2 separate regions of the Homo sapiens genome follow, and region 1 is linked to region 2. Evidence: promoter capture Hi-C in human tissues and cell types (Jung and others, 2019). All regions are on one chromosome and are shown on one strand. The core of a region is centred on a gene start or on the middle of the fragment in contact, and the rest is flanking DNA. Distances in the headings are between cores, read along the strand shown.

Region 1 (4,358 bases), core at 165-2,664, 91 kb before region 2:
TCTAACCCCCTACTCAAGCAACACCACCTCCATCATTTTTTTTTTTTTTGAGACAGAGTCTCGCTCTGTTGCCCAGGTTAGAGTCCAGTGGAGTGATCTTGACTCACTGCAACCTCCACCTCCTGGGTTCAAGCGATTCTGCTGCCTCAGCCTCCCGAGTAACTGGGATTACAGGGGCATGTGCCACCACTCCCGGCTAATTTTTGTATTTTTAGTAGAGACGGGGTTTTGCCATGTTGGCCAGGCTGGTCTCGAACTCCTGACCTCAGGTGATCTGCCCGCCTCGGCCTCCCGACCTCAGGTGATCCACCCGCCTCGGCCTCCCAAAGTGCTGGGATTACTGGCATAAGCCACCATGCCTGGCTACCACCTCCACTTTTACAGATAAAAAAAACCAGAGGGGTGGCCAGAGCCATGTAGAACAGGAAGGCAGGCCTCGCATCCAACCACTCACTGCTGGGCGTGGCCTCTGTGTCCTGGCATGTGCTGTTTCTTCTGCTAGGACAGCCCTTCCTCGATGAAGCCTCAGCCCACTGAATGAATGACAACCTTGGCTGCACCTGCACGTCACCCGTGGCTGTCTCTATTGTGGCTCATGATGCCCAGCCCCCTTTCCATCACCCTACAAGCTTCTGAAGCCCCAGACTCAGGTTGGTTCATTGCAGAGCCCCCAGCTGTCAGCCCAAGGTGCCCAGGGAGAGATGCTGAAAAAGGCTTGGACATGAATGAATCAGTAGGCTTGAGCCAGAACAAATTCTCTCAATCCTGGCCCAGCTTGGACCCCCACATCCCAATCCCTGTTCTCCTAGGCCAAAGCTATTCTGAGAGGTCTTTCAGGCCCCTATTTCCAGATCCCAGTGGGCTTTGAAGACATGGTCTCCCTTGCTTCCCCTGGGCCTCGGCCCCGCCTGGGCAGAGCCTTCTCTCAGTTGTTGTGGGTGAATCACTGGCAGGCTGTAAACAGCTCTATGGAGCACTGGCTGTACCACCAAGGCCCTGGCACTCATCCTAGCCGCGCCAGGGGGATCTAAAAGAAGACATGGCTCCCACGCACCCACGATGGAAAGGAGAAGGTGGAATAGAAACAGGGGGGAGGCTTCCAGATTTGCATACCAACACGTGCACAGGAGTCTGTAATGCAGCCCAGCCTAGGAGGGGACAAAACAGAACCTGGAGAATGAGAAGGGGATGAATCAGAAACCCTTCCAAGAGGAAGGGACCTGCAGCGAGGAGGTTGGGTGGCTTCTGGGAGTTTAAAAACCACCAGTATTTACTGAGCACCTACTATGCAACAGGGACTGCTCCAGGGCTGCAGGTACTGCCATGAACAAAACAAAGACCCCATGCCGCGCAGGACAGAAAAGCAGAGCAGGGCCAGGGAGGGTGTGGGCAGCTGCCTTATGCATCATTCACAAGATTCTGAAGAAGGACGAGCTTGGAGACCTTTCCAGCCACTTAACAGATGGGGAAACTGAGGCCCAGAAAGGGCTGAGGAGTTGCCTGGAGTCGCACAGGAAGACGGGGCAGAGGCAGACCCCCAGGCCCTGTGGGTGGGCTCAGAGGTGAGGATGCCTCTTTGGACTTCAGAAAGGAGAGGCTTTGACCTTCAGTAAAGCCCTGAGCTCAGTCCCTCCCCATGTGGCCCAGGTGGGGACTCATTTCCAGGGTAGGTAGTTGGGGGCTGGCTCAGGGCAGGACCCCTCCCCTCCTGCCCCTCAGAGGAGGGATCCCAGGGCACTCAGAGAAACAGCAGAGGCTCGTGAGGAAAGCGAAAACAAGTCACTCAGCGGTGGGTTCCCCAGGGCTACGCCTCCTCCCCTCCCCGTCTGTAGATGGGCAGCTCTGACTCCGGGCTTTTGGCCTTTCCAAGACCAAAAATGTAGCTTCCTTTCCTCCCCCAGGAGCAGCCAGCTGGGGCCGCCAGTATGGTCTGGCGTCTGGAAACTCAGACTTCTTACAGCCCCACACCCCACCTACACCAGCCCCAGCGCAGAGCTTGATGTCTGCTGAGTGACTCGCTTTCTGTGGCTTCAACAGCCTCGGCCGCAGCAGGGACAGAGCGCGGGCACCGACTTTTCAGGCTGTCGCTCTGCTAAGTGAACATTAGACCCACATTACACAGCCGCTGAAATTTGTGGCTGCCTCCTACAAGCCATTTGATAAGCCCTTATTGTCACCTCCTCCTGGTTTGCGTGCATCCCCAGGGACTGGGGCAGCTTGTTCACTCAGAGCCAGGGCGCTGCCAGGGGGCAGAAGCGGGGCATGGGTGGCACAGAGCCCTGGCTGGGAGCTGTGGCCCACTTGTGTTGCCTTGAGCATGACGCTTGCCCTTTCTGGTTTCACCTGGAAATGGCTCTCCAGAACGTGACTCAGCTTCCCTGTTCAGCCGGCCCCCTCACTGGTCCATTCCTAGGCACAGTCCTGGGCTCTGGATAAAGCAGCCTCTTCTGAGGTCACTAAACCAGCCCCCAGCCCTAAACCTGCCCCAAACAATTTGTCATACCAAGACTCTTGGACCTCTTCCCAGAGCTTCCCAGTATCCCTACTCCAAAGCTATCTTTCCCTTCTCTAAGCTCACCTCGCCTTGTCCAGGCTCTGTCCAGAAGGCGTCCTGGGCCATTGCACAGGTGGGTACTGCAGGGGGGTGGGGGCCTCCTTTACATTGGACCCCCCTGCACAGGACTGACAAATAGTTGATCTTTATAGATGCCCATTCAGTCACTCACCAATTCAACAAACAGCTCTTTGGGCCAGCTTTGTATTCAGCTCCACACTGGGTCTGGGGATAGATATTAGAGGCTGACAAGGCACAGCCTTACCCTCAAAGAGCTCCCTGTCTGAGGAGGAGAAATACGACAAAGCAGGTGATTCATGCCCTAATGGGGGAAACCCTGGGAGCAGTGGGAGCACACAGCAGTGCTACCTAATCCTGGGGAAATAAGGGAAGGCTTCCTGGAAGAGGCAACATCTAAACTGAGACTTGAAGAACGAGTAAGAGTTAGCCAGATAGGGGAAGCAGTTCCAGAAAGTGGGAGCACCCAGGCAGAGTTCTGGAGTCTGGAGACAGCACATAGATTCTGGGAACTCGCAGGAGTCAGGCTGGCCTCTTTTCTTCTTCTATTGACTGCCTTTTCCCCACCCCACTAAGAAAGGAGGACAGATAGTTATCTCCCACTGGGTGGGCTTCCCAGACCCCTATTCCTGCCGGAAGAGGCCCGATAACTCCCAGATGGCTGGTCACTTACCACATGCACCTAACCTGCCCGTCACTTCTCTGCTCTGAGCCTCAGCCTCATCTGTCAAATGGGGTGGGGCACTTATGCTCCTATGTCATTCTTACGAGAGACCTGGAGGAGAGAAGAGAAGGCCCAGCCCTTCCCTTGCCTCGCTAGGGGTGCAGCCCGGATTGGGCCTGGGTCTGCAGGGGGAAGTGGGGTGGGGGAGACACTGAATGCTATTGCCCACCAATCTGAGCCCAGGCCAGCCGCAGACCCCTGGCTTCTCTCCCATCTCAGGAGACTTTCTCCCTCAGCCCCCTCACTCCCAGCCACGTTGGATGATGACAAAAAAAGAAAAGAAAGAAATGGTCCTCCCACTACCTGGCAGGCATGCCCACGATGAGAAATGCCTTTCCAGGGGAGCGTGGTCTCTGCAGAGCCCTTGCCAACCCCCAGCCCTACCTGTCGTGATCCTCTGGCTGCTCCCCTATATTTTCTCCCCCTACTCCCACCTCCACCTCACTGGCTGGAGGGGAACGGGGAAAGAAAACAGCCTTCATGGTGGGGCTGAGGACTCAGAGACTAGGCATGGGGAAATGGGGGGCAGAGGGTGGGAGGGGAACCCCAGGACCAGCTTGAAGCAAGTCATTCTTCCCTTCCTGGTTTATAGGGAGGCGGAGGTGAGGAGTGGGAGTGGAGTACCTGACCATCAGACACTCTAGGCCAAATTCAATGCCCGGAAAGGGCTGGGCCCCAGTGAAGGGCTCAACAAGCTTATGGGATTAGATCAGAGAGCCAGGGGGACATCAGGAATGGTCTTATCCAGCAAAGGTGCAAACTGAGGTCCAGAGAGGGGCCAAGACTTCCCCAATCACACAGCAAGTTAGAGGAGGCCGAGGCAGGACTAGAACAGGGCCTTCTGTATCCAGTCCCAGTGGTGGGAACGGAATGCAGGATAACTTAAAGGACCGTGACAAAGCCAGGCCAGGCTGCCATGGAGGTCGCGGTCCAAGCCTGACCACAGCTTTTATTCCTCCCCTACACGCTGGGCTCCTGTCCCACCAACTTGGATGCACTCACAGGGAGAAGAGACATTCTTGCCTGGATCTTCCGGGGAGCCAGATTTCCAGGTCTTTCAAT
Region 2 (4,625 bases), core at 11-2,510:
CGGCAACTCGCCAAAAGTAGCCGTTCCATTGACCTAAGTAGGGACCCACCAGTCCCGCAGGCCTAACCAGCCAAAGCTTCCTAGAGCCCCTCCTCTCAGAGTGGCTGAAGCCCATCAGCCAGAACATAGGCTCAGGTGCCCAGTCCTGGAGCGGCTTCCAGGGCGCGGAAGCTGCCCCCGGGGGCGCCCAGAGCCCGGGAACCAGCGCCGCCTATGAGCAGGTCTTCCTCCTCCTCATCCTCAAAGGCCCGCGCTGGGCGCCGGGGCGGAGGCCGGGGCGTGGGCTCGTCGCGCTCCGCCATGCGCTCGACGGCGCCCTCGCCCACGAGGAACACGGTGTCCGCGACGCGCGGGGGCCCGGTGACGGGGTTGTGGTCGTAGGAGAAGACGCGCAGCGCGCGCAGCGGGTGCAGGTCGGGGAAGCCGCCCAGGCGGTTGCGGTCGAGGTCGAGGATGTGCAGGCGGCCCATGCGCAGCAGCGCGGGCGGGAACTCCTCGAAGCGGTTGCCGTAGAGCCAGAGGCCGCGCAAGCCCGTCATGCGCGGCAGCTCGGCCGGCAGCGCGCGCAGCCGGTTGTCGCCCATCTGGAGCGACTGCAGCGCCACCAGGCGCAGCAGCGGCCGCGGGAAGCGCCGCAAGAAGTTGCCCTCGATCCAGAGGCAGCGCAGGCTCTGCAACTGCGCGAAGTCGGCGGGCAGCGCCAGCAGCCGGTTGCCGCCCAGATAGAGGCGCGTGAGGCGCGGCAGGCGGCACAGGCCGTCAGGCAGTCGCTCGAGCTTGTTGAAGTCCAGCGCCAGGATGCGCAGCTCGCGCAGCTCCTCGATCTCCTCCGGCAGCTCGCGCAGCCCCGTGCCGCTCACATACAGCTTCTGCAGGCGGCTCAGCGCGCACACTGCGCTGGGCAGCCGCCGCAACCGCCGCCCGCTCAGCTCCAGCTGCTGGTCGCCGCTGCGCAGCTGCTCCTCTGCGTCCGACGGCAGCTCATCCGGCGTGGACTCGGCGATGCCCATGGTCACGGGCCCCGGCCGGGGCCGCCGCCACTGCCACCGCCAGGCATCGCCCCGCCCCGGCCGCCCCCCAGCCGCCCCGACGGTGCCGGAGCCGCGCCGGCCCCCGGGCCCCCCGCCCCGGCCTTCCCCCGCGCCGGGAGGGGGGCCGTGCGGGGCCGGGAGGAGGCACCCACTTGGGGCACCGCCGCCGCGCGCCGCGCTCCACCGCCCGCCCTCGGGCCTCCCCCGTTGCCTCCGCCGGAGGCCGACTGGCTAGGGTTCGCGCTGACTCGCAGCTTAGCGACCCGTCGCCCTGGCAACCCCGACGCGCGTGCGGCTGCCAATGAGGCGGAGGGAGGGCGGGGCGGGGCGGGGCCAAGGCGCCACCCTAGTGGGGTCCCAGCGCCGGAGCCCGCCCCCTACCTGCCCATCCAGCCCACCGCGGAGCAAGCACAAGCCGAGAGATTCCCCGCCCCGGCCAAGCCTGGCACTGAGACCCGACGCCCGACGCTGTTTGGTGTGCGGTTGTGTGCGCCCCAGAGCCGCGGGTCCAAGAAGGCGAAGGAAACGCTGGCGGTGGATCAAAGACTCTGGACTAGAGGCTCACAAGGAGGGGCTGAGGGGCGCGGTCACTGCGAGCCATTCACGTCCAGCGGCGTGCGGCCGGCCTACCTGCTGGGATCACTTCAGTGTAGTAACTCGAAACAGTGTTACTGTCCGGCCCTTTTCACATCTGCTGGTTTTACCGGGCCCCAGGGCTTGGCTCCGCCCCGCCTAATTGCCCTACAGCTTCCTCATTGCTACACTCACACCCCTCTCTCCTGCCAGGATCCCTCCACCGACGCTCAAAGTCTGTGTGTGGCTGCGGTGGACAGAGGACTGGGACACGTGAACGCCTTTGAGCCACCAATCATGGCCACTCTCATTCCATGACTCTTCTTCCTTCGCCTGCTACCACCAGCAGCAGTTCCCCCCTGCCTTCTCCCCCCACCTCCCATCCGGAGCCCTCCTGCGGGAGCTCCTGGCAGAAAAGCACTGGCTGTCACTGGCTTCGAGCCCACGTGTGCCCAGCACTATGCTGAAAGCATTGCGTTGAGTCCTTGGCACAGCCTATGAGGTAGACACCCTCATCACCCCGATTTTAAAGATGGAGAAACTGAGGGTCAAAGAGACATGACTTGAGCTGGGTCAGTCTGAGCTGAGTGAAGTGCCCAAGGTCACCCAGCTGATGAGCAGCTGGATTCGAAGCCAGGTAGTGTGACTCCAGAGCCTGTGTTCCTAACCATAAACCATACCGATAGATGGAAACAAGGTTCACTCCACCTCCAGCAATGAATTTTCTCACAACAGAGCCTCTGATTCTCTGGACAAAGCTACAAAGACAGCACTATAATCCCACATGAAAGATGAGAGAAGTGGCCTCGCGGGGATTAGGCACCCTGCTTACGGTCACACAATGCATAGAGGTTGCAGCCCGGGAGCCAAATTTTCGGGCTCCAAGCCTCCTGCCTCCTGCCTTCTCTTGAACCCGGCTGGTGTGACCCATGTAACTGGCTGAGTGGACTGACTTCAGGAGAGCACGCTGCCCTTTGGCCCACCCCCATTGCCATCCCCACTGCAGGGGAAGGGGGATGGAAGACAGCCCAAGGGCAGAGAGCAGTTGCCAATGCAACGGGAGGAAGGGAACCATCCCCACTGGAAAGTAAGCTGCCCAGCCAGGGAGGTTTGGGCATCTCCTTCCCTGCTGGCACAGGCTCTAGAGCATACAGTAGACATTCCATGCAAATTTTTATTTATTTATTTATTTATTTATTTATTTATTTATTTATTTAGAGACAGAGTTTTGCTCTTGTTGCATAGGTTGGAGTGCAATGGCGTGATCTTGGCTCACTGCAACCTCCGCCTCGCCTCCTGGGTTCAAGCGATTCTCTTGCCTCAGCCTCCCAAGTAGCTGAGATTACAGGTGCCCACCACCACGCCCAGCTAATTTTTGTATTTTAGAAGAGACAGGGGTTCACCATGTTGGTCAGGCTGGTCTCGAACTCCTGATCTCAGGTGATCCACCTGCCTCAGCCTCCCAAAGTGCTGGAATTATAGGCATGAGCCACTGCGCCTTGCTGAAAAAAACTTAACAAAAAAAGTGGAGGCAAACATTGCATACAGTGAAATGCATAGATCGTAAGTGTCTTCTTGGATGCGTTTTGACAAATGTACACACCCCTGTCCCATTTCCATCAACCCAAGAGTTCTCTCAAGCCTCTTGCGGTCAATCCCCACCTCACAGAGGCAACTATGATCCTGACCTCTATCCTTATGGATCAGTTTTCCCTGTTCTTGAATTTCACACAAATGAAATTATTCAGCACATGCTTTTTTTCAGATAATATATATTTGTTGGATACATGAATGAAAGGACAGAGCAATAGCAATTCTAATATGGCAAGAGGTGTTAGGGGGCGGACAGATGATGGGGGGACACAGAGGCAGATGTTGCTCTGAGCCACGAACCAGCCATGCACCCCCATCCTGGGAGAGACTGGCAAAACGAAAGCAGGAATCCAGGCCAAGGTAGAGGACCCAGGTGGAACCCAGACACCAGACCTAGGGTATAGGAGTCTCAGCCCCAACCGGAGGGGCTTCAGGCTCCTCCCAGATGTCACTTAAGTTCCAATCCAGCTCTCTCCCTTCTACTCATTCGGGAGGACTTCTTGGAAGAGGTAAGTCTCTCAGAGACCAGAAAGGTAGGGAATACCCAGCCAGGCTAATGGGATGAGGATGAGTCCCTCCCCCCACCCCCAAGCAGTTTGAGGGAACATTGGCTGTGGAGGAGGAGGCTCAGCAGCCCAGCCTCGCCACATGCTCAGGCTGGCACCCAGCGCCAGGCTGCCCTCTTGGGCTCCATCAGCACAGGCAGCACCACATGAGCCCACATGAGCCTCTCCACCCCGGCACCAGCCTGGCAGAGCTTCCTGGGGCCGAGAGCATGGAGGACCAGCCCTCTTCTTTCTCAGAGTCTTTTTCTTGCTCTCGGCAGATCCTGTACCTTCACCTCCCACCAGGCCCTTCTCAGTGGGTAAAGGTAAAATGTGCTGGCGTTCCAGGCCCACGCAGGCTGGCAGTGGGGCAATCATCATGATGAATCACGCTGGCACTGCAGGCACCCGGTCCTTGTTGAGGCGTAACTAATGAATTAGCTTCACCCCCAGCACGGGGCCTCTCAGCCTTTCCCCACTTCCCAGGAAGGCAGGAAACTGAGACCTGGGAGGGGGAAGCAGGGGAGGAGAGAGGACTCTGTCAGCTCCAGGCATGGGTCCCAGACCCTGGCCAGCCCCTCTGCCCCCACACACACTGCAAAAACACCCAAAGTGCAGGTCCCCCAGGGCCCCAGAAACTGCCTCTCTGTTACTAATCATGAGCTATAACTATTAGTGCCCACCCCCAACTCTGTATTTTTTAAAGGATTTCTTAAAATATAGGAAAAGTGTGGCGCTGTGATAAACACCCCCATGCCCAGTACCCAGCATTGACAATTGTTCACATTTCATCAAACTTGCTTTAAACCTATTTTCTTTTAAATAAAAGGAAGAAAACGGCACACGTAATATACAAGTCTCCTTTGTCTCCCCTCCAATGTCC

Evidence for each region. The method cuts DNA at HindIII sites, captures the fragments that hold promoters and counts their contacts. A contact is called where the count stands out against the background at its distance.
Region 1: a fragment that was not itself captured here is called in contact with the fragment with the promoter of LRRC10B in region 2 in 2 of the 25 tissues and cell types used here (H1 embryonic stem cells and mesenchymal stem cells).

The regions. Positions count from the first base shown.
Region 1 is chr11:61,597,174-61,601,531 of GRCh38, reverse strand. All of the region lies in intron 2 of LOC101927495 (a long non-coding RNA gene), which reads right to left. Among named protein-coding and RNA genes, the nearest start is that of SYT7, 18 kb to the right of the region's middle. RefSeq lists enhancers at 170-837, 1,506-2,173. The HindIII fragment of the contact is 6,468 bases long and covers 1-4,358 here.
Region 2 is chr11:61,505,384-61,510,008 of GRCh38, reverse strand. LRRC10B (leucine rich repeat containing 10B) reads right to left here and starts at 1,260. Exons shown (of 1, transcript NM_001145077.2): 1 at 1-1,260. The coding sequence starts at 1,010. The coding sequence ends at 132. It overlaps MIR4488 (microRNA 4488), which reads right to left and starts at 1,413; the gene lies at 1,352-1,413. LOC105369329 (a long non-coding RNA gene) reads right to left here. Exons shown (of 3, transcript NR_188527.1): 3 at 3,360-4,247. The HindIII fragment of the contact is 12,437 bases long and covers 1-4,625 here.